Regions from separate parts of the Homo sapiens genome. Here regions 2, 3 and 4 are each linked to region 1. Evidence: promoter capture Hi-C in human tissues and cell types (Jung and others, 2019). All regions are on one chromosome and are shown on one strand. The core of a region is centred on a gene start or on the middle of the fragment in contact, and the rest is flanking DNA. Distances in the headings are between cores, read along the strand shown.

What was found. Contacts are between HindIII fragments. The study calls those that stand out against the background at their distance.
Region 2: a contact is called between a fragment that was not itself captured here and the fragment with the promoter of IZUMO3 in region 1, in 5 of the 25 tissues and cell types used here (H1 embryonic stem cells, aorta, dorsolateral prefrontal cortex and 2 more).
Region 3: a fragment that was not itself captured here is called in contact with the fragment with the promoter of IZUMO3 in region 1 in 3 of the 25 tissues and cell types used here (H1 embryonic stem cells, bladder and spleen).
Region 4: a fragment that was not itself captured here is called in contact with the fragment with the promoter of IZUMO3 in region 1 in 6 of the 25 tissues and cell types used here (H1 embryonic stem cells, dorsolateral prefrontal cortex, lymphoblastoid cells and 3 more).

Annotation. Positions count from the first base shown.
Region 1 is chr9:24,543,789-24,550,677 of GRCh38, reverse strand. It overlaps IZUMO3 (IZUMO family member 3), which reads left to right and starts at 4,781. Exons shown (of 7, transcript NM_001365008.2): 1 at 4,781-5,254; 2 at 5,392-5,466; 3 at 5,617-5,706; 4 at 5,918-5,935; 5 at 6,397-6,477. The coding sequence starts at 5,029. RefSeq lists an enhancer at 5,132-6,331. The HindIII fragment of the contact is 4,602 bases long and covers 851-5,452 here.
Region 2 is chr9:24,598,007-24,604,895 of GRCh38, reverse strand. No RefSeq gene overlaps it. Among named protein-coding and RNA genes, the nearest start is that of IZUMO3, 56 kb to the right of the region's middle. The HindIII fragment of the contact is 5,377 bases long and covers 901-6,277 here.
Region 3 is chr9:24,490,044-24,496,932 of GRCh38, reverse strand. No RefSeq gene overlaps it. Among named protein-coding and RNA genes, the nearest start is that of IZUMO3, 52 kb to the left of the region's middle. The HindIII fragment of the contact is 4,435 bases long and covers 581-5,015 here.
Region 4 is chr9:24,577,894-24,584,782 of GRCh38, reverse strand. No RefSeq gene overlaps it. Among named protein-coding and RNA genes, the nearest start is that of IZUMO3, 35 kb to the right of the region's middle. RefSeq lists an enhancer at 4,499-5,126. The HindIII fragment of the contact is 6,530 bases long and covers 398-6,889 here.

The DNA.
Region 1 (6,889 bases), core at 3,532-6,031:
AATAAAATATGACATTTATGTTGCAAGGTCACACATTTTTTCACACTGCTCTCAGATACACGAAAGAGACATAGCTTCCTCATAGTCTATTGGTCTTAGCTTTCTCTGAACATCTTTTCACCTCCTTGGGTAAAAAATAAAAAGCAATATTAGCATAATATAATAAGCCTAATCTCACCAAATAATTTAAACACTTTTTTTAGATAACTCCATTTCTTTTGGAAGAATCATTCTTTCACATTTTTCCTCTTGTTTCTTTCCAAACAGGATGTAAGAATGGGGAGGTAGGAGCTGATGTTACCTCATGGCACTGTGTGGTTGAGGGGTCATTGTCTTGGATGTGTCTCATGTAGAAGAAAGTTTTTCACTTACAGTAGCGTTTGCCTACAACATATCAAAACTGTTATGTTTCATGCCAGCTAGCTTTAACCTCCCGAAATTGTTAAGAAACTATGAAGTCTGAGTAACTCTGGGACCCTAGACCTTCTTGAGCCAGGTTAAAACAAATTCATAATCACCAAAATCCAGGCTTGTTTTAACCAACTACAAGTCCAGTCATGGACTCAATCCTTCCTATCTAGCGTGTGAAAATGTAGTAAATATAACCACCATGGACTCCCTCTCCTTCTAGAGAGGGGTTTAAAAACTCCTGATTTTTTATCCTCTCAGTAAATTGTGCAGTAAATTTCTCCACTAACGTGTGTTTTAGTTTTTGACAGTGTGTTGGTATCTTCCAAGGTGAAGATGTAACTTTACCTAATACCATTCCTAAATCTATTTATAGTATTTGTTGAGAAACTCTGCACATGGGGCACTTTCAACCTGTTTTCTCTCAGTTGCATCAGTAACTGGTGGTCTTTCCTAATGATTTGGCCCAACAAGGCCCTGACGCTTGCTGCAGACTCCACTTCCTTTCCTGACCCTGGTACCAGGTCTGCTCTCCGGCTGTTACACAGGGTCCCTTTACCTGAAGCCTTGGTGATATGCCAGCAAAGGTGCCAGTCAGATCCTGAGTTGAGTTGTACATCCTTCCCCAGCACCCAGTGAAAGCATCTTAAGACATTCCATGCCACATAGGAACTGACATCGTCTCACGAGCCCTTTCTATTAACCTATTCTGTAAAAGCCCTTAAAGGGAACAGGGCAAAAGCTCATGGAATATGAGGATTTAACTCAACATTTCTAGTATAGAGAGAAAATAAGCTGTGACACATATCTTCTGCTTCCGCTACCCTCCTCCCCTCATTCTTCCCACAATCGCCTTGATGTGTTTAGCTTTTTAGTTCATTTCCTGTTAAAGATTCATTGTAAATCTTCTAGTCTACCCTATAATTTACCCACCCTTATGACTATTCCTAAAGGATAAGTGAAATATGAGGAAATAAATTAGCTTAATGACAATGGAATATAAATGGGGAGGTATATAGAAAATTAAACTTATTCTACATGTGGAATGTCTGGTATATAGTAATTATTTCAAATACGATTATTACACTACCTAGAAATATAGCTTATAACATGGCCAAATGTCAAGTAATGGCTTCTTGATCTCAGATTACAGTCAGGAATGTAGTTAACTGCATGTGACTATAAAAGGTATCTAAATTATTTGCCAAACTTTTAAGGAATCCTGTGAAGTGATAGGTAGGGATGGGTAATAGAGCAGAGCTCAATGGCATAAATAATCCATCAGAAAAATGGCTGTAAGAAGCTTGAGGATAAGGATTCATTATTTTTGTTAATAAATCTGAGAAATCAGATCTACCATGGGATGAGGGAGAATTTCTGTAAAAATCTTGCTCTTTATGAAACTTGTTCTTCAAATTTCAAACCTCAGTACCTTATGTGATTTGTAACAAAGGCCAAATGGTACCAAACAACTGATTCTAGCCCTTAAAGGAGGGACTCTCTAATTGCTAGTGTTTTAGTATAAAAACAACTACCCATGAATATCTATGTTACAACTACAAATGAGTCATTATGTAGTTGGTAAAAATATTATGAATGTATGTGCCATTATTTGTCTCATACTATTTTAAACAGAGTTTAGCTAGCTAGTCTGCAGATTTGTGCTGACTATAAATCATAGCTCTTCCTGCCAAGCCAAACCATATACTAACTTAATTATTCTAGGGTTTGGGTGTTAGCCTTTTGCTTTCCAGACACAGGCATTATTATTTTAATTAAGTAATGTGATCATTACATTATTAATCAATTTCCAGACAGCTCTTCTTTCCCAAAGCTCAAATATTTTACATTTACGAAATTCAAAGTGCTATCCCATGATAATTGTGGTTATTTTCTTATGTTATACATTTCACCATCAGTACTTTTAGAGTGTTCCCCCTAAAGGTTCCTGAACACTATTGGATTCTCACTCATCATGATATATTAATTACTGTCTCTAATCTCCTGGATCCAGCCTTTCTATAAAAATTTCTCTAAACTTAGCTAGTACTGCTCTGTTTTCTCATAAACCTCGATGTGTACCTCTGGGTTTACCATTAGCACATTGTGTTATCTTTCTACTGTTTACTCCATGAGACTGAGATTTCCTTCCTTGTTATTCCTTTTACATGGGATATATGTATTCTTTCAATTACAAGTTCTATCTGTCTTAATAAGTGACTTGCCTTTTTCCAGCCTTTCTAAGACTATCCAAAAGCCATTTTTTTTCTCTCATTCTAAAAACCTGATTGAAATTTAAGCTGGAAGGGTGAGACAATGATAAAAATGATAGATGGACCTCTAAGTCTGGGTTAAAGTAATGTGCCATTGAATTATTCAGTAATGTGTCAGAGGATACTCTTTGAACTGTCTAAGTGAAGGTATGGATCATTGACTGGAAAATATCTATAATGCATATCTTTTCTTGAAGCACAGTTTGTTCTCATACCTTGCCACTTCTCTGCCAAATTTTTTAGCCCCTTTAGTTTTCAACTTTACTATCTAGAGTTAATTTAATCCCATTAGCTCACTTGCCTTCAGACCTCAGCATGTGAAAATCTTTTGGGAAATCCTCTAAAAATGAGATCATCTAGCCAAGGGAATAAAAAAAAAATCTGAGCAGAGATATGCTAATTTAAACCATAAATCAAGTAATCTGTATTGGCCTTCATATTTTGACTTATCAAATTCCAAGAGATAATTTTCTGTGTTATCCCAGCAAGTTGTTGTTGAGAGGCAGTAAAATGTATAGGGTTTGGAACCACACAAGACATGAGCTTGAACCCTGAACTCATACTCTAAATTATTCTTCCAGCGAGGATTCTTTTACATCTCTGAGTCTCAATTTCTTACCAGTAACATAGAAATGACAATCTCCAAAGGATTGCGCGCCATGAGAATTTGTGACTACCTGAAATGTTTAGCACAATGTCTGTCACATGGACTTGGTAGACGTATAAGTAATGGTAATTCTTTTAACTTCCCGCACAACATTCCACTGTGATCACCCCATATCTTAAATATAAATTCTACCACTAACCCTGTAGATTGCCAGTGTTTCCTGGTTTCCAGAAGGTCACAGCCATACAGGCAATGTATTAGAAAAGAGGTAACCAGTGCTCTTAAGAGTCTGAAAAGCAACCTCAATTTATTCAAATAACACAGAATATTTTTATTCAAAGGGCCATTGAAAGGAGAACATGTTTATTTGGACATCTTCCTTGTAGGTGGTCTGAGAGGGAAGCCCATGATAACCACTATGTTTTTATATGTTACATACTTTGCCAGTATTTTAGAATGCACTTGTTAAAGGATCTGAACTTTATTGGATTCATCACTCAGTATTCCTCAACTATTGTTTCTAGTATCTGACTCCACACTCTCTATAAGAAGAATGCTATAAAAAGATTAGAAATCACCAGGCACAGTGGCTCATGCCTGTAATCCCAGCACTTTGGGAGGCCGAGGCGGGTGAATCACCTGAGGTCGGGAGTTCAAGACCAGCTTGACCAACATGGAGAAACCTCATCTCTACTAAAAATACAAAATAAGCCAGGCATGATGGCACATGCCTGTAATCCCAGCTACTCAGGAGGCTGATGCAGGAGAAACACTGGAACCCGGGAGCGGAGGTTGAAGTGAGCTGAGATCATGCCATTGCACTCCAGCCCGGGCAACAAGAGTGAAATCCCATCTCGAAAGAAGAAAAGAAAAGAAAAAAAAGAAAAGAAAAGAAAAGAAAAGAAAAGAAAAGAAAAGAAAAGAAAAGAAAAGAAAAGAAAAGGAGAAAGAAAGAAGGAAGGAAGGAAGGAAGGAAGGAAGGAAGGAAGGAAGGAAGGAAGGAAGGAAGGAAGGAAGGAAGGGAAAGAAAAGAGAAGAAAGCAAGAAGAAAAGGAAAAGATTACAAGTCATGTCTAGAAAATCATCCTAGTGATAAATGTAGCCTGAAATATGTTACTGTCTATTAAAATTGCCAAATATTATTCTAGATAAATGCTCACTCCTTTATTCTCAACAATACTGCCACCAGTATTTGTCAACAATACTGCCCCAGTAGGGACCGAGACCCGCAAGAAACTCAATATTCTTGGCTTTTCTTACCTCTAATGTAGAAGCAGAGTTTGAGTTAAGCAATCTCTCAGGTTCTATAGGATCACTTCCATAACCCATCTCTGATGATAAACATCTCTGAAGGTCAGGAGGGGGTTTAAGAGTCTCATGAGGATGCAAGTCAGGGAGAGGGCTAAAGAAACACTTTTTCTGAGACATCTCCCTGCACAGAACTCTGCTTGTGTGAGCTCAAGGCTTCTCTATCTCTTGGTGTTCTACACTCAGAACTCAGGTATCCGCTCCCCAGCTGGCAGTTCCCTCTCCTAGAATGAAGGATAATAGTCAGTAAACAACTAAAGATCATTAAACTAAACAACTAAAGATTGCCCGATAGTGGGATGGAAACAGCGGGAAAAGTGGAGTCAGACTATCCAGAACCAGGCTCTCATTCCCGGATTTTTGAAGGAAAAGGAACTAAGTGAACTAGTTGCCAGGACAACCTGCTGTCGGGGAGCGGGGGTGAAGAAAGAAATGGGTGACCTGTGGTTATTCCTGCTCCTGCCCCTCTCAGCCTTCCATGGAGTCAAAGGCTGTTTAGAATGTGACCCCAAATTTATAGAGGATGTTGGCTCCTTGCTGGGAAATCTGATACCTTCAGAAGTCCCCGGCCGAACTCAGCTGCTTGAACGGCAGATTAAGGAGATGATTCATTTAAGCTTCAAGGTCTCCCACAGTGACAAGAGGCTTCGGGTGTTGGGTGAGGGAAGCTTGAGTTCCTGAGAGTCCAGGGGCTTAAACGGAGAAGGGAGGCAAGGAAGAGAACACCTGGGTCTACATAACTTCCTGCATAGATGTAATTATTCCCCTACATGTACCTTTACTCTCCCTCTCTAGCTGTTCAGCAGGTTGTTAAGTTGAGAACATGGTTGAAGAATGAATTTTATAAACTGGGCAATGAAACATGGAAAGGTGAGGTACTGTTTCAATGTTAAAAGTTTGTATTGCTCAAGCAAGCCTCAGAAAATTTGGCTGGGGAAAACAAAGATAAAAACAGACATAATTAACTTCTGAAGGGAAGAGCTACTTCTATTTTTTGACACCCCTTCCACTCCCTCTTAGGTGTCTTTATCTATCAAGGCAAGCTTCTCGATGTCTGCCAAAACCTGGAATCCAAACTGAAAGAATTACTAAAGAACTTCTCTGAAATTGGTAAGTAAAACTTTCTATATAACAGCACTGAAGTTATATGAAGGGAATAGAAAATGCGGGATGAGGGAAGAAATGCAAGTTCATAATAGAGTTATTTAGAATGGGTGGAGAGGTAACTGGAACTTAAAGGGTAAACAAAGACTACTTGGGTATAAATATGGCAAACTGTAGCTGGTTTTAAACTCATTAGAACTTTCTGATTCTCTTCTAGCTTGTTCTGAAGATTGCAGTGAGTACAGTACATGTGACGCCTTGAGGTTTCAGCCCATATTTTCCCATCTCCTTTGCTCTATATGGCCCTATCTCTCCCACCTGTTACACTGGGAAACCAATTCCTAGAGCTGTGGTTACAAGGGGTAACGTCAACAATACCTGATAACGAAACCTAGCTCATGAAATCTCAGACACCCCACATATTTTTGAGGTACTAGGAGGCCTTCTAACATATGGTTTACAACCCATTGCCCCAGTATAAGCTGAGGCATCCTTTTCCCGCTTTTTCCTGGAGATCAGACTTACAGATTTTGATCCATCAAGAAACTTGATTTCTAGGAGAAGAAGAAATTCACAGCAATGCAAACTTGAGAGTCCTGGGAATGCTTGAGATCAAATCCTCCACACTTGATGTATGACTAAGGAACCCTCGTGCCATGCCCTCTTTCTGATTATCTTTCTTCTCCTCTTTATCAGTTGTGGTTGAAGGTCCCATTCTTGATTGTTGGACGTGTCTTCGCATGACTAACAGGTGCTTCAAAGGAGAATATTGTGGAGGTAACAAAGATCATGGTATGGAATTTTGAAGGGACAGGGATTAAGGAGCAGGGTTGCTCACTGATTTATTCTACATGTATTTGTTGGGTCACTACATGACCTTTAATGGAGGTCATGGTAGTGTTACAAAATGGAGCTAGGGTGTTGGGTGAAATTTTGACCAGTATAAATAATTTGGCACTGAATCAACTGAAAGGCTGAGAAATGAAGAGGCTAGGCTTGGAATGAAGAAATTAGGCTGGGAAGAATTTTGCTGACAGCTATCAGCAACAGTTTTGTAGAACCTAGGAGACTAAAAGTAATAAAGGTCAAAATAAGCATGGAACAGTGATGAAGTAGTAAACAGGGCAAACTGAGGTTAAAAGAGTTTTCTATTCTGAATAAATGTCACAAGCTATTTCTCTTCTCCAAA
Region 2 (6,889 bases), core at 2,340-4,839, 55 kb before region 1:
ATCAATATAGTAAGATCCTCGAATGTTCTTTAAAAGTTTTCTTGAATTTTCAAGGTTTTCATGATTTTCCACTTGATGTTTCAGTTAAAGAGAAATGGAAATAAAAGGAAAACAGACTTTAATTGTGCATTCATTCAATATCCTGAGAGGTCCTGGTGTTCTTTCCTTCTTAGGTTGATTGATTTTCTGAGTCTCTGTGGTTACCTCACTTCAGTAGTCTTTTGTTATACTAAATGTTCATTTCTTCCCTTTGCATAAGTTATAGGAAAACTATTTTTACCTCCTCTATACACTGATTAATACTAAAGCCCACTAGAGAAAAAATAAAACAAATAGCTGTGTTAGAAAAAAATTAAAGGACTAAGACTTTTTTGGCTTACAATTTTTCATTTATTAAAATTTTAATTTTGGGAGAGAAATCCATATATCAATAGCTTTCCCTCCCAAAACCAAAACACAGTTCCCTTTGATATGGTTTCAGTATTAAGATTAAGGTTAAGGTGGCACTGGAAAAGGATGAGGTAAAAATTAATTTCCCACTTTAAATCAGTTAAAGTGTCCACCTGTGACTCAAATAAACAATTGGAACAAAAAGAATGTTTCTATCCCAAAAGAAGAGATTCTTTAAGGACAAAGTAAGGACTAACACAGATAAGAAAATGAGATCAATCAGTCCATTAACACAGAATGGAGCACGTGAAATAATGTGCCACAGTGAATGTGCCACAAGGGAACAGAGGGGAAGACCTCTCTGTTAACACAGAATAGAGCAAGCAACTAGACACCAGAAATACATTGAGATGAACAGAAATGAGATAGAACATGTCCCTATTCCTAACCTTAACCATACACAAAACCCTAATCATAATTCCTTACACACTAACCCCTCATTCTAACCTCTACAGAAATGCCAGCTTCCTGAATGGGAACAATGATTTCCCAAACAGATGTCAGACATTAGCCACTGGCCTTAGCTGCCATCAATATTAATCAGCTAATCTTAACATTAGCAAAACATATGCATCTTAAGGATGAACTCTTACTACAATTGTGTAGAGGACAATTATTAGCAAATTCAAATATTTAGGATGATGTCAGCACATCTATTGTCAACTACAATCTTTTTTTTTTTAAATAACAGATATCTCTCACTGGTTTAACGGGGATATTATTGTCACTTAGAGTTTATATGCTTGAATTTCCTAAATACATGGTAATGACACATGAAGCATGAACAAGGACTTTCTTAAGCTATTAACTATCTTTTATTATCAAGAGGATCTCAGTTAGAAATTTACTAATGGTTATTACTTAGGTATAGGCATTTCTAAAAACTGTATGTATGTATGCATGCATGAATAAGAGTATGTTTGTATGCATGAAATGTGTTGATCACCTGTATGTTATTTGGATTTTTCTATTCTTTTGTTAATGAAAAATTAACTACACATAAAACTTCTGATTTTTTTCATAAAATTAGCTTACTTAAAAAAACCATTTGAGACACAAAAATAGGAAATCTTATTTTTCTTAATTTTACATAAAATGGCCTGAATTCTGCCTTTCTTATGTTCTATCATGTATGAGTCTACAACTGAGGTGCCTGTCAAACTCTGAAAATTTGGGGCTTTTCCTTTTATCATACATTACCACATATATCTCCATGGACAATTAGGCATTTACAAGCACTTTTGTGGTTAGTGCCGTTAAGGGCAACAATAATCATAGTAAATTATTTCCTCTCATGATGGAACATGACTCAGATCCTGATGCAATTCGCAGACAAATGCCTTAGTATCTGGACTAAAGGAATAGACCTTGGCATGTGGAAGTTCAAAATGTAATACAATCACAAACAATTGCATTTATTCACACAACAAATACGTAATGAATGCCTACTATGTACTACACACTACATTAGGTTCTGAGGATACATCATTTAGAGGATACACAAAGCTCCTGCAATTATAGGACTTAGAGTCTACAGACAGAGTACAAGGAAAACAAAGTGTGCCCCTGATATGTATCATATTGAATGGCAGGTCTACATACTTGAGCATCTGTATCCATTAGGAATAATATCTTGAAAAGGCTACTGCAGGAGGAGAGTGAATAAAGGTCGTATCATGGAAAACTAGAAAGGAGAAAGGGGCTAACAGTCCAGAATGGAAGGACAGATACACAGAAGATGATGGTAAATTAATGTACATTAATGGCAACTTTTCCAGGAACAGAGAAATTTGCTGAAATCAGAACAAGTTTTTGGAATGAAATGAAGATCAAGTTATAAGACAAAGGACAGAGTGAGAAGGCTTGGGGGTTCTGTGCCACAGTGAAGTTCTGGGCCTCCCATGGTGTTCGCTTATGCTAAAAATGCAGCCCCAATTACCAGAGTGATAATTGAGAACCAGTTTTATCCATAAGCATTACAAGAGTCATTAAGAATGGCCATAGTCACAGGGTGTTAGCCATACTAATTTCGGTTCTATGTATACAGCAAAAGCTAATAGGCAAACTATAGTGTCTTCTACGTCCTTGCACCTAAGTAGAATTTTTAGAAGTGAATTAGACACATCATGGCTTCGGCATTGCTTTTCATAAAAATAGGACTTCTGTTCTCTTTCTTTCATAGATGCGATTTGATTTCAAGCTGAATTGTATAGATGGAAATAGAAAGGGAATATCTGGATTTCCCAGGTAATAAGAAAGCATGGGTGTTTGTAATACTGTAGCAATTTATTATATACATGTAAATATATTTTCTATAGCCAAGGAATTTTCATTTTAAACCTATATGTTATACACACACACACACACACACACACACACACACACACACGTATATATGTACTTTTACTCTCAAACTAGTGACCTTCTCTGGAGGAAAATACTTAGGAAGGGTATGATTTATCTGAAGAATATTTGCCTGCTCATATAAATGTTTTGATATACAAACACATACTAATAAACACATGCCTATAATCACAGATTTTATAAGTCATGCTGGGTTATATGGACATTAGTTTAAAGGCCTAAACCAAATTAGGATTTAGAATTTCCTTAAAAACAATAGAGAGTTAAGTAATGTAACTTACCTTTTCTGATACATGCACGTTCATCATAGCAATATTCTCATATGTGCCAGATTAAAAATGCTGAGAAATTCTAATCTTACTAAAAGAATATTTAGATCTGTCTCTGCTTTATGCATTCTTTACCAAAGTATTTCACAATCACACGTGTGTTTTTCAAGAACACAAGGTACAAGGCTACTGGACAGTATATTTGTTCAAATAGAAGCTAACTATCTTTTAAGAATTAAGTGGATCATATTTTACATACCAGGTGATATGGAGCATAACCTCTCAATTTACCACGACAAAACACCACAAATATTTGAAAAAGAAAAATTATTTGTTTGACCTTCCATTTTTTTCAAAATAAAGAGAAGAATCACTTCATAATACTTCACAATGGCCCAGGAATGTGATCCATATATCTTTGAACTAGAGAAGGATGTTTTCCCTGGAAAAAAATTAAGTGTAAAGAGTGCCTGCAAAATATGTTAACTAAGAGCAAGGCTAATCGGACTGAATTTTTTAATAGTAATTATCTGTCTGTCCATGCCACTGTGCTGGGTAAAAATAATGGTCTGGCCTGCTTTCCACAACATCTCTGCATTTTCTCCTTTGAATTGGAAATCCGTGGACTCTGTCAAACAGATATCTAAATATTACATATTTCTTTTTGAAGCATTCATTCAACACGTATTAAATAAGTGCTAACTATGTGCCTGGCACTGTGCTAGATCATGGGTATAGAACTGTAAATAAGGTAGCTACACATCCGCTCTTCATGAAGATTATAGTTCAGCTAACACAGTTAACAAATTATACCTCTACTTGAACACGGGTGCTCATTTACCCCTCCCAATTCCTCTCAACTCCCACCCTTGAATTCACTAAAGTGATGATAAATTATTATAAACCCAAGGATAGAAAACAAGAGAACAGAAAATAGCAAGCAAGTTATTTCTGGTTGTTAGAAGGCAGAAAGCATGTGGGAAGACATGATTACAGGCTTAACAATCAAGGAAATAATAATATAAATGCCTTGCAGGGCAAAGGACAGCTAAGGCACTCTCCTCCTCCTCTTTGAGAAAATTGAGCTGGGGACACCCCAGACTCATACTCAGTTGACGGCATAATTGAGGAATAGAGCTGAAAATAGAGAAAGAAATTGAACAACTACATGTTGAACTGAAACATGTTAATGGATCTTTCTCTAACCTATTCCCAGAATCCTCGCAGCCAGGCATAAATTCTCGTCAATAATACCTGATCTGACCAACACATACCCAGGAGTTGGCCTGGAAGATTCCTTGACAAGAAACTAAGTGACACTAGGGAATTTAAAAAAAAAAAAAAGAAAAAGAAAAAAACAGACTCCTATTAATTTTGAGTGTTCTCAAACAAAACCCTAAGTTAACAACCTGCTCTCCTATAGCAAAGCTTCACTGCTACCAAGATGATATCGTCCAAATAAGCCCTCCAGTAAGAAAAATAACCAACTTATGAAAAAGGGGATCCCACAATAAATAAGCAAAAAATGGTGTAAAGAAACCCTCAAAACAAAAAGTAGAAAAAAAGTAAATATATAGATACTGTAGATAGATCCTCATTATTCTCAGAAAGAAGAGAGAAAATGCCCGTTGTGAGATGAAAATGCAGTTGTAAAATGAAAATATGACTTTATAAGAAACGTTCAAAGAAGAACCAGGAATGCTGAGAATTTAGGGATAAAACTGTCTATTATTTTTAATTAATTGGCAATTTTAGAAGATAAAGTCAAGGGAATATTCCAGAAATACTGATTCCAGAAATAGTGATTCCAGAAATATTCCAGAAATATGAAAGAAAAGATAACTCAATCTAGAATGTTTAACATCTAGATTATAGGAGTTCTAGGAAGAGCAAATAAAACATAATTGGGTGATCATGAAGAAAATATAATAGCAATATATGAAAATTCTGGGAGATAAGAATTTGTATCTCTAGAATAAAACGGCCAATCATGAAGTCAGCACAATAAATGAGAAAAGGTCCTTCACAGTGTTGATCATTGCAAAATTCAGAGAAATCATTTGAAGGGAATTCTCTAAAATGTTCCATAAGGGGAAAAATTGTAAGCTCTTAAACAAATGAACACTCTGAGAGAAAATTATTCTTTCCCAGGCTTTCTATTATTTAGCTACTTTCACACTGTTACACTACATGATAATTCAGTGGCTTATATAAACAAGCATATATTTTTCACCCATGCTCCTGCAGATTATCTGTGGTTAAGCTTCTACATGCTAGGCTCAGCTAGGTTTGCCTCAGATGTCTCTCATTTTTGAGATGACAACACTACCTAAGGCTTTTTTCTTTCTTACTTTCGTTGTCACTGTTGTTGTTGTTGTTGTTGAAGGGGAAAACATAAGAGAAACTCATCCTGCAAGCAAGTATAAATCATTTGCTTGAGTTCCATCTATTAAAACAGCATTGGCCCAAGCAAAGAACATTACCAAACCCCTCACCAGTAAAACAGGGAAGTGAACTCCACTTCTAGTAGAAAGAATTGCAGTTACACGACAAGCAAACAAACAAACAAAAACCCCAAAAGGCTTGGATACAAGTAGGCATGGGGGGTTTTAGGCAATAGCGCAATTTATCATACTAGCTAAACTAGAAAGACATGGAAGCTCTCAAAATCTTATGTCCCTTGTGCCCTGGAATAGTTTTTAAAGTGTATTGCCCAAATCAGCAGCAGCACCTGAGAATTTGTTGAAAAGGCAAATTCACTCTCCTCACCCCAGATACACTGAATCAGAAACTGGGGTTAAAACCTAGTAAACTGTTTTAAAAAGATATCCATGTGATTCTGATGCACGCTAAAGTTTCAAAAACACTATATTAGAAGATGTGTATGCAGAAAACCTTAAAAGGAAGACATGAGATCCAGAGAGTGGGATTACAAAAAATAAGAGAAGTGAGAGAAATACACAAATAACATCTTTGTTTCAAGCCTAGACTTCAACGATATAGACTGGGAAATAGGAAGGAAGAGGAATCCTTCCTATTGACAGATCAATGCATTTGGAGAAAAATGTTCATACACGTATAGGAAACTAACGTAAATTAAGCAATTATTAAGTCCAGTGTGTAGTGATGAAGGGAGGCAATGGGAAAAGAAAGGTAATCATAGCACAATACGTCCTTTAGAAGTGAATTGTATTTACATAGTCATCACCATGAAAATATCTTCTATTAATCTATTAATGAGTTTAAAGAAATCTTAGTCAAAAGGCTGAGAAAAGGGAAAGCAGGAATGTGAGGATGGGTGGAAAGCTAAATCTTCAACTACCATAACAGGAAATCAAGAGTTACTAAAATGAGTAAATGAAATATAATTTCATTATTTTAAAGAAAGTAATGTTTTAACATTTTTAAATGTAATTTTAAAAATATCATAGAAAAAATATCTTAAAAATAGTAGAAAAACTGTTACCATCTTGGGAGTAATCTTGTGGGATGAAGAGACAAAATGCTGGTGATTGACCTTTCTGACAAAGTCATGTAATATCATTTTAATTTAAAAATAAGATGTGCCTTTAATAAAACAACAACTTACTTTAAAAGACTGATAAGCAATAAAAAACACTGTGATATGTGCAGAGAAATAAAATTTGACACATAATAAAAAAGAAATTCCAACCTAACATGTGTCCAAAACTTCAGAGTCATCCTAGACTTTCTCTTATAGTCTTATATTCCTTACTGTATCCATCAGCAAATTCTACTGACTCGAAGTTTAAAATATATCCAAAATCTGACCATTTTTTAATAAC
Region 3 (6,889 bases), core at 1,549-4,048, 52 kb after region 1:
CGCTGTCTCAAAAAAAAAAAAAAAAAAGATAAAGAAAAATTAATAATGAAAATTCAAAAATATATATTACAGAGCTACCACTGCCACTTTTCTCTAAATTACTGTCACCATGACCTGGTGGCTAACATTAAACACACATTCTTTTTCCTTCCTGCATACATACTTATGCTTAACCAATTATCTAAATAATATATATTTAATAATATATTTGTTCCATAGTGTGGGATCTCTTTTTAATAAATTCTCACATCACCTTTATAAATGTACAAGACAAAATTATTCTTTAGGTTATTATTAAAGTACTTGTGAATGGGTAAGCTTGTAGACATTTGCTGTAAAAATTGGGTGAACCAGAAATTTTGATCTAGTCTGACTGCAAAGGGAAGGGGGAATTTGCCCTACACCAGCAAAATGGTCTGAGGACTAACTTTGAAAAACCTGCTTAATAGCAAGGGCAATCCATTTAGATGTCTCCCCTTTTAAACTTACAGACTCCTCAAATATTATTATTTAGCCAAAATACAAGTAAAATGGTTTAAAGATGAATTTAATTTCAAGTTTTTGTCATGCTAACATGAAGGTACAATTGGTCAATAAAGCAAATACTAGAATGTAAAATCACATCGCTTTGGTGAGGAATTGTGAGTATTCCACCTTTATGCAAAAGAAATTTACATTCTTCTTTCATCTCTCATTGTGATATCATTCCTACCCGTTTGTATGATGAGATACGAGGCACTCCTGGTGAGAAGGCATAGACAGGAAGTACTGGGTAGTTAGAACATAATATTTAAGATCATTTTCTTCTGGTAGGCTTGAGTTGCAGTTTGGCCATTCCAAGCTTTGTAATTTAATATTTCTTCTTTGTAAAAGAGGTATAGCATTAATTACAAGAGGAAGAATGTAAAATATTTAGCAAAGTACTAATAAAGGTTAGCTAAAAATACATTCACCATCCACCATGTACCACAATTAGTAGTAATAATAAGGCTTCTTATTCTATATAAATCATTGTGGCAGTTAATTTGTAACGAAGAGAGAGATGAATGCAACCTATAAACTTCTATTCATAAAAAGGCAATGATGATCATGGAACGTAAAGTAGGCTTTTCTGAACTCAAAATTTAAGAAGAGATTAACATTAAATGCAGAAAAGAGGATTTGGCTGGACAATAAAGATTTAGTATGTTTTTACTAAAAAAAAAAAAAAAAAAAAAAGTTGAAATAGCCAGTGTCAAGAATCTTCTAAGTCTCACTTCAGGAATTCCACAGGGTACAGTCAATTTTTTTAAAAAGGAGGAGTTTATCAAACGAAACTGAAGTGCCTCATTCCCATGTAATGATACCTCACCACCCACCTCATCCTTGCAACCGTTATATTAGGCTTTATTTATTGAGTTTTTTTGAAACTCAATAAATATTGAATACTTACAATTTCCAAATACTCTGCTGTTAACTGGGGATACAACAGAGAAACACATCTCTGCCTTTGTGTGAGCCTGTCTAGCAAGCAAGTATACAAAGGATTATCAAAATACTACAAATAATGACAAGTAGAAATATAAGCATTTAGGTTGGTGAGACAAGAATGGATGGGATTGGAAGAGAGCAAGGGACTATATAAGATGACTAAAGAAGTCCTGAAAAAATTCTGTCTACTTTCACGTTGAGAACTCAGAGAGAAGAATCTAGCAAAAAAAAATAAGATCAAGGAGAACACAGCATTCCAGGGTAAGGTCTGCAGTTAGGAAAGGGCAAGGGCAAAAGAAAAGATAATCATAGAAGTATCAATACAAATAGGCAGATTCAAGACATATGCTAGAGATAGAATCCATAGAATTTATGTTTTACTGGGAGAGTTAGGGAAAAAGAATGAGCAAGGATGCTTCATATAATTTTGATTTGATTAATGAGTAATTGTAGTGATACTACCGATATGAGAAACAGCGAGAGGGATAGTTTCAGGGAGGTAAAAGTTTAGCACTCATTTTGGACCCATACAATTTTATATGCTTGTTAGTGGAGATATCAGGTTGAATGCTGACTATGAGTCTGGAACTCATGGGAAAGCTCTGGGCTACTGATACACAGTTCAGGTTTATCATCATTTAAATAGTATTTAAAACCATGTGATGGATGAAAGCTCCTAATGAACAAGACTGAACAGAAATGAAGATCTGGGACTGAACCCTAGAAGAAGCCAACCATTAAAGAATGTGCAGAGGAGGAATAGCCAACAAAGAAGAGGAAGAAATGCTTGGTGTAAGCAAAAATCCAGGAGAAGAGAATTCACTGGTGACTAAGAGTCCTCTCTAGGACTTTTGCTTTGTTTCTATGGTTTAGATTTTCAGGTTCATTTTTCCATTCCGCAGAATTCCAAAATAGTCTCTTTTGTTATTGCTATCCTTTGGCAGTCTATTTAAGTTCTCTGAATTCTAAGTTCTTCATCTATAAAGTGGGAGGCAAATTTGCGTGGCTGTGAAGATTAAAATATATTAATATATGAAAAGTACTTAACACTGGAGTGTCTAGAATATAAGCACTCAGTAAATTATAGACGTGGTTATTTAAATTTCTGTTATTTCTCAAAACTTCTACCAACTAGTCCAAACTTGAGCACTGTCACAGAAAAAAAAATGCTAATCTTATGACAGTATAAAATAATCTACTCAAAGGATCAAGAAGTTATACATCAAAGTGTTATATATAAAAGAATATTGATTATATAAGAGTTATATATAAAAGAATATTGGTTATATAAAGAATATTGTGGGGCAGTTACTTATGGCTCATGCATAAACCTATTAAAATATTTCCTAAACAAAGGACCGACAAAAAAAGGAGGAGGTGGAATAGCAGAAGCACAAGAACAAATAATTTTACATCAATTTTGCTAGGAAACTAGGACTTTGTCTCAAAATTATAAGTGAAAATCTTTCTCTAATTTTTTGTGCAAAAAAAAGTACTAATTCGGAAAAGATATAAAAGTTTTACCTTTGAAACTCTATATAAAATAATTTTTAAAAGGTATGGCATAAGTGGCAATATAATAGAGACTGTAGAAAGACAGTACTCAAAGATTATGACCATTACTGGCACACATGAATTTATCACAGAATTTCAGGTTTTAAAGGAAGACTTTGGCAAGAGTTATCAATGTAATTCCATTAAAACATGTGACTTTGTGACACAGGGCTTATTGATTATTGTGTTTAAGAAGGAACAGGGCAAGACTTCAGAAATTGAAAGCTCTTAACACTATTGAATTCAGACCATAAAATATTTGTGGGGATTTTATTGCAAAGACAAACGGTTGTATCCAACAGAACGATATGTGGAATCTAAATTCTGTGCAATAAGAGAATAATAGCTGACTGCCTAATCTCCTGTATAGAATTAGTAGGACACACTAGAAGGGTAAGATGGATTGGTTTCCTCATAAGTCTACATTAGGAAAATGCTTTTGACTATATACAACATTCTATATGTTCAGTGATGATGTACACAAACGAGCATCCATTCTAATGTGTTAGATATATGAGAATAATATGGTTAGCAAATAAAAATAGGTGAAGTTGACAGGACAAGAAATAAATAGCATGTCTGTGACAGATGCAAGTGCATAGCTGTGAGTTTCCACTGTTTACAATGGCAATAGATGGAGACAGATAAATTTTAACTATGGATAATCCTTAAATGATTATGGAATACCACTAGTAAAGACATTAAATTCTTGAAATTCTTGATGGGCATTTGGTGGCCATTATTCTCATCGCATTGTAGAAACTTTGTTGTTGTTGTTGTTTGTTGTTGTTGTTGTTTTGAGACGGTATTTCACTCTTGTTGCCCAAACTGGAGTGAAATGGGGCAATATCGGCTCACTGCAACCTCTGCCTCCCGGGTTCCAGCAATTCTCCTGCCTCAGCCTCCCAAGTAGCTGGGATGACAGGGGCTCGCCACCATGCCTGGCTAATTTTTTGTATTCTTAGTAGAGATGGTTTGTTTATTTATTTATTTATTTATTTATTTATTTATTTATTTTATTTTTGAGGCGGAATCTCACTCTGTGCCCAGGCTGGAGTGCAGTGGTGTGATCTCGGCTCACTGCAAGCTTCGCCTCCTGGGTTCACGCCATTTTCCTGCCTCAGCCTCCTGAGTAAATGGGACTATAAGCACCTGCCACAACACCCGACTTATTTTTGTATTTTTAGTAGAGAGAGGGTTTCACCATGTTGGCCAGGCTGGTCTTGAACTCCTGATCTCAAGTGATCCACCCACCTAGGCCTTCCAAAGTGCTGGGATTACAGGCGTGAGCCACCACACCCAGCTTGAGAAGTTCTTTATAACCTCAATTGCCTACCCAGAGGTAGGTTATCAATCATTAATAGTATTTTTCTAAATGCTGGATGACTAACAGTCTAGAGGACAACGGTGAACACTGGCCTATAGTGGAAATTCCAATGTTTTTCTATATTTACAAGGGTCTTGGAAATTACAGTGTCCTCGCTCCATCTTTGGATTTTGGTCAGAGGTCCTAAAAGAGGACATACCTCACAGATTGCTTTTAAGTAAGAACTTTAATAGTTGCATTAAGGAATCCCAGATCTAGATCCCGGCATGGAACACAGCAAAGTATTACCAGGGTCCAGGATTCGGAGACACATCTGAACCCAGAGAAGAAAACTTGGGCAAGAATAGTCTGTTAGCCCAACTCATTCCAACTCTAAATCACGAGTCCACTTAATGAATGTTTACTAAACATCTAATATATGTCATATGCTTTGCTAAAAACTCAAGACAAAATGGTGAACAATACAGTTGTTATCTATAGTTTAATTCTAGTATTGTGAACGACACTGACACACAATGACAAATGCTCAGTACAATGTAACATGTTCAATGGTAGAGGTGATCGGAGTGTTTTGGATGCATATGGGTAAAGGTATTAGCCTACTTTTGTTGGTCAGAGAAGACTTTTCTCATGTACAAAATATCTAGGCTGAAAGCAAAAGGTTAAGGAGTGAATCAGACAAGACAAGTGAAGCAGAGAGAAGAATATTCCAGGCAGAGAGGGTAGCACGTGCAAAAACCTGAAAGTGAGAAAGAGCAGGCATAGAAAGAGAATTTGAGCTAGTTAAGTATGGCTTAAGCATAGTCCCTGAAAAGCCAAGAAACTCCTCCAAATTCAAGTGAGAGATAATTGATTTATATATATATACATATATATATATATGTATATGATAATTTGAGAGCCTAAGGTTCTTACATGCATTTACAATACTTAAAAATAGGTGCTGTCAATATTTTCCTATATGCCACCACAGGGTTTACGTCCTAACAATATACTCCAAAGTCAACTAAAACACAGGTCAGACAGCTATTCCAGAAATAGCTGTATATTTCTGGAAAAATGCAAAGCCATCACTCTCATTCACTCACAATGCACTAAAATGGTCATTTCTTAAAAGAAATTCTTACCATCAATTATCCTACTTTCTTGCATCATATTTGCACAGTTCAGAGTATATACAGAGGAGAAGAATTGAGAAGGGGCCAGAGATGGTATGACAAACGATAACAGGAACAGCTTACATCAAGGTAGGTATAAAATGTAAATGTTGCACAATAAACCTCTGTGAACCACTTCTAATCACTAGAATCAGCAGGTTTATGTTCTTTGACAGATTCTTGGAATTAAGAAAATTACACTCAAGATGGTCTTTTCTGTATAGTATTTTCTATTTTGAGGTTTATTGAAAATGTACATTTTAATCAGGTGAGTGAACAGACATCAATTTATAAATGACACTGCCAAATTATTTTCACTAGATACTTTCTAAATACTACATTTTCTGAGCAACGTCATGTACTGGGCCTATCAACTAGCAGACTGTGGCTAATCAATTCTAAGTTACTAAGCTTAGAGCATTAGCTTTCTTGCTTGGGCTTTTCAATCAGATATCATATACAGCTGAATTTATCTTTCCTTTGTTTTTTGTACGTAGAAACATCACTCTCTAGTTGACATTTGTACCCTAATTTTACTATACAAACTGTAACTTGAGTAGGAATCATAAGAGCTAACATTACTTAAGAGCATATTATATATAGCAGGAGCTCTTAGCAGAGATCTGCGTGTAATAACTTATTGAAATCTTAATTTTGCAGATAACAATTATTATCTGAAAGAGTCTGAAAGATCATCAAATCCCTGACTTAGATTTTTTTTCTATACTACTTTGGATCTGTTCAGTAGATTCAGCCAAGCAGTTTGAGATCAGAGGTACGGCATTTGCTCAACAGTTTCTGGCTAGCAATACAAATGTTGTGCTGTTTCTATGTTAGTCAGTTGAAACCCATGGAGCATACATGTGGCCAGATCAGCCACATCAAGTCATCAAATTCACTTTTCCAGTCTTGCTTGATTCAGGAGAAACATTTGTATCTTTTAAGGAAATGGAAAAATACCTCAAAATAGGCAAGTGAATGAAGAAAACGCATAGAATTTAGTTTTGTTCTAACCTCTTTACAGTTAATTGTGTTATTGAGTGTTGTTAGGTTTTACAAATCTCTACAAGGCAAAGGAACTCAGAGAGATAGAGTATGAGATTTATTAATAAATATACCTAACACTGATGCAGGTGGAGTTTTCGAACTATTAGCTAAGCACCCATCACAACTTTCAAACACTTCTAAAAATTTATTCTGTTTGCATTTTTTCATTGTAACTAATCTCTACCACAACCCTTCTTTATGTTCCTTTTTCTTGCTCAGATCAGAGTGAGCTTTATTGCCTCTGTTCTCCAATCAGAAAGTGCATATACCACAGACACGTTTCCTTTGCTTCTGTATGCACATACATCAAAACCTGTAGTTGACAGAAACAAAC
Region 4 (6,889 bases), core at 2,413-4,912, 35 kb before region 1:
GAAACTGGATTCTTAAATCTGAAAAGTATTACCTTAAACGAAATAGTTTAAGACATGGAAATGGACAGGAACCTAGTTTCCACTTCAGCTCTGCCATTAAACAACCATGAAACAAGATATTCATAATAATGAGAATTTTCTAATTCCTACTGAGACACACAAAACAGAATTTGAAACTCTAATTCATACATAATATGCTTTCTTTGGCATAACTAACATAAAAAAACTTAATGTCCTTTTTATACAGATCTTCAGCAATAAGAAACATCTTCCACTTCAAGCCACATCATTATTAATTCTGTGCTGTGTTGTGAGATTACGCAGATTTGGCATCATGGATTCTATTATGACTTATAACATCTTTTCCATCTATATTTGGCTGTATAATTTTAACAGGATATATCAAACAAGAAATTTCCCTCTCCTCCAAAGAGCTTTTATTTCTCTTTAATAGAGTGGCACCTACTATTTCAACAAAATTACTCTCACTTTTAAATGAGGTAACTGAGTTTAACAGTGGTTAAGAGGCTTGTTCAATGCCATTAATTGACGGAAATTTCAGCCCCTTGACCTATAAATTAGTGTGCTTGCCAGAGTGTTAATTAAAGGTGATGAGAAGATAGTAAACATTTAATCAGATAATTAAAATTTGCTAGAGGTTTTGAGGATCTATTTTACCTTTTGAAATTAAAAAAAAAATGAGGTAGGCATTATTAACTTTTAATCTCTAGACAAAGAAAATAAAACTTTAAAAAGTTTACCAAAAGTAATATATGTAAGTTTTTATATTATAAAAGAGAAAAATCAGCATTTAAACTATGGTTTCAGTGAATAAAAAGTTTAATTTCTTCTAATGATTTATGTCAATGAAAATGTAAACTAATTTTAAAAAGGAAGAGTCTATACATTTCAAAACTATATAAATGGCGATGAATTTTTGAGAATATACTGTTTACATGCATTAACATTTTAAACTTATACACACATCACATAAACTATATAAATAGTGCCACAATGCACACTCCGTGGTAGACTTGCATATCCCTGCACCAGTTAACTGCTACATTTAAAAGAGCAAATACACAAGATTTCACCCTAAAACAATACTATTTACTGGCTACAAAAATATGAATTTTCATTAAAATTTTAATCTAATTTGACTAGCAACTACCAAAATTTTTTCCTTGCACTAGACATTCTACCAAGCCATGGGGAAATAAATATGAATAGGAATTACAGGTAAGCAGAGGTATATAAGCAGTGGGATAAGAACGACTTAAAGTACTCTGGGAGTACAATGGTACTGGGCTCCCAAGTGGAGGGGAGATCCAAGACACACTTTAAAGCTGGTAACAGATTTTCCATATCGAGTGGATGGAGTGGTCCTTTCAACAGAGGAGACCACATGAGCAAAGATGTGGATGCCTGCATGGGGACAGTATGCTCTGGGTGATGCTCAAGTGGCCAGGCTCATCAAACATGCAAGAAGGGAGCCTATAAGACTTCCCCTCACTGCCTGCCTTAAACTGTGGTCTGAAATATATGCTAATAAAAGTCAAGAAAATTATGAAAGCAGAATATGGGCTTTAACTATATGCTTCATTCTTCTCAATTATCTTAAACTTATATTTCAAATTCAACCTTTACCTATATGCCCAATCAAAAGCAAGAATGGGAGAAATTACTTATCTTCTTTAATTAACAGTTTTCATCCCGTAGCAGACTGTTTTTCATAATTCCTAAATTCTCCTCTCTTCCTGACATTTGATAGTCACTTATTGTTCTTAGAAGTTGATCAGTTACAGCGGTCGTCTATTTACTTCCGTCCTCCAACTCTTACTTTAAATTGCACAATGACACTGAGTAAATAAACTTTTCCTCAGCTTCTATTCTCATAGTTTCAGCTCTCCTCTCTTCTGTTTTTGATAGATCTGAAGTTATTTTGAGTCCTATGCAGTTCTCTTTCCTTTATCCTCTTTTGAGTTTACTTTGGAGAATAAATCACAGTTTCTCATGCCTTACGGCACTGTGTCATTATAAAATATTTCATACCTGATGACCTTTGAGCATTTCTTATTCAAAGATTCATGAAAGCTTAGCATGAGGTACATCTAATGATCCCTGTGTAAACATACTGAAAGCTCCCTCCTACAAAGGCACAGGCAGGTGGAAGACATATTTTCGACACTCTGTCTTCAATCTAAGCATCACTGGCAGTGCCTGACAGGTCTCATTTGCTAAATAAAGTACAATGTGTCAATCTGAAATAAATGTAAATTATCACCTTTCTTCCATGTTAATTAAGGTCTGATTAATGCAATACAAGCAGTTGTTGAGAGTACAGTAAAAGAATGGCTTTTGTTGCAAAAGCAAAGCAAAATTCCTCAAATATAAATCATTGTCTGCCTCATCCATTGAACTTTGGGTTAGAAAGGTTATTTGGAATGATTTGTTCTGTTGGAACATGGACAGATGTTCACATCTCAGCCTCTTAATAAATGAATCCCAAGGAGCAGATAGCAAAAGGCACTGATGCTTTAAAGGTAAGAATTAGTAGTGGAATGACCTAGACTTATCATAAATCATAAAAGGCTAAATTCTAGGCTTAGTTTTATTAAAAAAAATCTAAGAGGTGTAACTCAAAAATTATGCATGTTATTTATGCATAGGATAAAGTTGAGGAATATTTTATTAAGCTAAATCATGAATTTTTACCTGGGCCCCCTTTTTCTAGAACTTTAAGAAATGATCTATGGGTGAATATGAAAGGGCTACTGAGTAGAAATTAATAGAAGCAAATTTTAGAATGAATATCACTAACTGAGAAAACCTAATTCATTATACTTTCAAACTCCATTTGGTTAGTTGTATAATCCAAAGTAGCTCACAATGCATAGAGAAAGTGTTCTCTGAGTCATGGAAATTTTAGAAAATAAACAGGAATGCAAAAAATTACCTAACTCAATTTTCTGAGACTACAAAAGATAACAATTATGTTTATAAAAAGTACAGATAGTTAATGGCATAGTCAGGTATGTGATATGTGCTTCCAGGCTCACAAGCATAGTTTTCTAATTTATTTGTAATTTTGCTGTCCTTTTTTTCATAGATTTTCTTATATATGATGATTGTCTAAAATAACACTGTTGGAGAACTATGGGACCCTTCTCACATTTCAGCAAAATATGTTAATATATTAATAGATCATTTCTTTAAACATGAAGTTTTAAATGCAGTAGTTAATGGGTTTCTTCATTTGTTAATATTGTTTTCTGGGCTAGAAATCTAAATTTTTACACCAAAATACTATTATTTATAATTTCACATAGATATAATTCCTGGGAACTATGATAATATAATTATGATTATGAAAATAGCAGAGTCAGATCTATATTAACTCAAAACTGGTAGAACAAGTGGTCTCTCCTCAATTACAATTTATCATGCATTTGCAGAATGAGAAGCTATGCAATTTATTCACTCATTCCTTCATTCAACAAACAGGGCTGTAATATTAGAATAATGAAAAAGGTTCTAAAGTTGTAGAAAAAAATCAGTTGCAATGTTAGACATTCTTTAAGGTACAAATGTTATCACACTCCATAGCAATATTGAACTGACCTTTAACACGTTCCTTGTGTGCTTTCGCTTAAAACAGTCAGAGGTAGTGAACACAAGAAATAGTTATCACAGGTTACACGGAAATACAAGTATACAATGACAGTGACCTTATAATAAATCCTCCATTTAATTTGGTTGCCTTTTGTTAGGAGCATAGATATAAGATGCAAATAGTGGTCACAGATTCAAAATTTGTTAAACTTTGAAACTGACTCTTCTTTTATAATGGTACGAGGCTCGATGTGTTAAAAAGTTGATGAGTGTCTTTAGAGTGTCTATTAATAATGGTGTTTCGAATTATAGTGATTTTACCCAATGAAACTGAAAATCCTTTAACTCAATTGGAGTGACTACCAAACTATGTTTTCAATGACTCAGAGAATGATGGCCAAGAAAATTAATCCTATGCTTACAGTTAAGAATTACCTGAAAAATACCAGCCATCCCATTACTGGGTATATACCCAAAGGATTATAAATCACGCTGCTATAAAGACACATGCACATGTATGTTTATTGAGGCACTATTCACAAAAGCAAAGACTTGGAACCAACCCAAATGTCCATCAATGATAGACTGGATTAAGAAAATGTGACAGGGAGGAGCCAAGATGGCCAAATAGGAACAGCTCCGGTCTACACCTCCCAGCGTGAGCAACGCAGAAGATGGGTGATTTCTGCATTTCCTTCTGAGGTACCGGGTTTATCTCACTAGGGAGTGCCAGACAGTGGGTGCAGGCCAGTGGGTGCGCGCACCGTGCGCGAGCCGAAGCAGGGCGAGGCATTGCCGCACTTGGGAAGCGCAAGGGGTCAGGGAGTTCCCTTTCCGAGTCAAAGAAAGGGGTGACGGACGCACCTGGAAAATCGGGTCACTCCCACCCGAATATTGCGCTTTTCAGACCGGCTTAAAAAACCGCGAACCACGAGATTATATCCCACACCTGCCTCGGAGGGTCCTACACCCACGGAATCTCTCTGACTGCTAGCACAGCAGTCTGAGATCAAACTGCAAGGCAGCAGCGAGGCTGGGGGAGGGGCGCCAGCCATTGCCCAGGCTTGCTTAGGTAAACAAAGCAGCCAGGAAGCTCGAACTGCCTGGAGCCCACAACAGCTCAAGGAGGCCTGCCTGCCTCTGTAGGCTTCACCTCTGGGGGCAGGGCACAGACAAACAAAAAGACAGCAGTAACCTCTGCAGACTTAAGTGTCCCTGTCTGACAGCTTTGAAGAGAGCAGTGGTTCTCCCAGCACGCAGCTGGAGATCTGAGAACTTGCAGACTGCCTCCTCAAGTGGATCCCTGACCCGTGACCCCCGAGCAGCCTAACTGGGAGGCACCCCCCAGCAGGGGCACACTGACACCTCACATGGCAGGGTATTCCAACAGACCTGCAGCTGAGGGTCCTGTCTGTTAGAAGGAAAACTAACAAATAGAAAGGACATCCACACCAAAAACCCATCTGTACATCATCATCATCAAAGACCAAAAGTAGATAAAACCACAAAGATGGGGAAAAAACAGAACAGAAAAACTGGAAACTCTAAAACGCAGAGCGCCTCTCCTCCTCCAAAGGAACGCAGTTCCTCACCAGCAACGGAACAAAGCTGGATGGAGAATGACTTTGACGAGCTCAGAGAAGAAGGCTTCAGATGATCAAATTACTCTGAGCTACGGGAGGACATTCAAACCAAAGGCAAAGAAGTTGAAAACTTTGAAAAAAATTTAGAAGAATGTATAACTAGAATAACCAATACAGAGAAGTGCTTAAAGGAGCTGATGGAGCTGAAAACCAAGGCTCGAGAACTACGTGAAGAATGCAGAAGCCTCAGGAGCCCATGCGATCAACTGGAAGAAAGGGTATCAGCAATGGAAGATGAAATGAATGAAATGAAGCGAGAAGGGAAGGTTAGAGAAAAAAGAATAAAAAGAAATGAGCAAAGCCTCCAAGAAATATGGGACTATGTGAAAAGACCAAATCTACGTCTGATTGGTGTACCTGAAAGTGATGGGGAGAATGGAACCAACTTGGAAAACACTCTGCAGGATATTATCCAGGAGAACTTCCCCAATCTAGCAGGGCAGGCCAACGTTCAGATTCAGGAAATACAGAGAACGCCACAAAGATACTCCTCGAGAAGAGCAACTCCAAGACACATAATTGTCAGATTCACCAAAGTTGAAATGAAGGAAAAAATGTTAAGGGCAGCCAGAGAGAAAGGTCGGGTTACCCTCAAAGGTAAGCCCATCAGACTTACAGCGGATCTCTCAGCAGAAACCCTAAAGCCAGAAGAGAGTGGGGGCCAATATTCAACATTCTTAAAGAAAAGAATTTTCAACCCAGAATTTCATATCCAGACAAACTAAGCTTCATAAGTGAAGGAGAAATAAAATACTTTACAGACAAGCAGATGCTGAGAGATTTTGTCACCACCAGGCCTGCCTTACAAGAGCTACTGAAGGAAGCACTAAACATGGAAAGGAACAACCGGTACCAGCCGCTGCAAAATCATGCCAAAATGTAAAGACCATCAAGACTAGGAAGAAACTGCATCAACTAACGAGCAAAATCACCAGCTAACATCATAATGACAGGATCAAATTCACACATAACAATATTAACTTTAAATGTAAATGGACTAAATTCTCCAATTAAAAGACACAGACTGGCAAACTGGATAAAGAGTCAAGACCCATCAGTGTGCTGTATTCAGGAAACCCATCTCATGTGCAGAGACACACAAAGGCTCAAAATAAAAGGATGGAGGAAGATCTACCAAGCAAATGGAAAACAAAAAAAGGCAGGGGTTGCAATCCTAGTCTCTGATAAAACAGACTTTAAACCAACAAATATCAAAAGAGACAAAGAAGGCCATTACATAATGGTAAAGGGATCAATTCAACAAGAAGAGCTAACTATCCTAAATATATATGCACCCAATATAGGAGCACCCAGATTCATAAAGCAAGTCCTGAGTGACCTACAAAGAGACTTAGACTCCCACACATTAATAATGGGAGACTTTAACACCCCACTGTCAACATTAGACAGATCAACAAGACAGAAAGTCAACAAGGATACCCAGGAATTGAACTCAGCTCTGCACCAAGTGGACCTAATAGACATCTACAGAACTCTCCACCCCAAATCAACAGAATATACATTCTTTTCAGCACCACACCACACCTATTCCAAAATTGACCACATACTTGGAAGTAAAGCTCTCCTCAGCAAATGTAAAAGAACAGAAATTATAACTAACTATCTCTCAGACC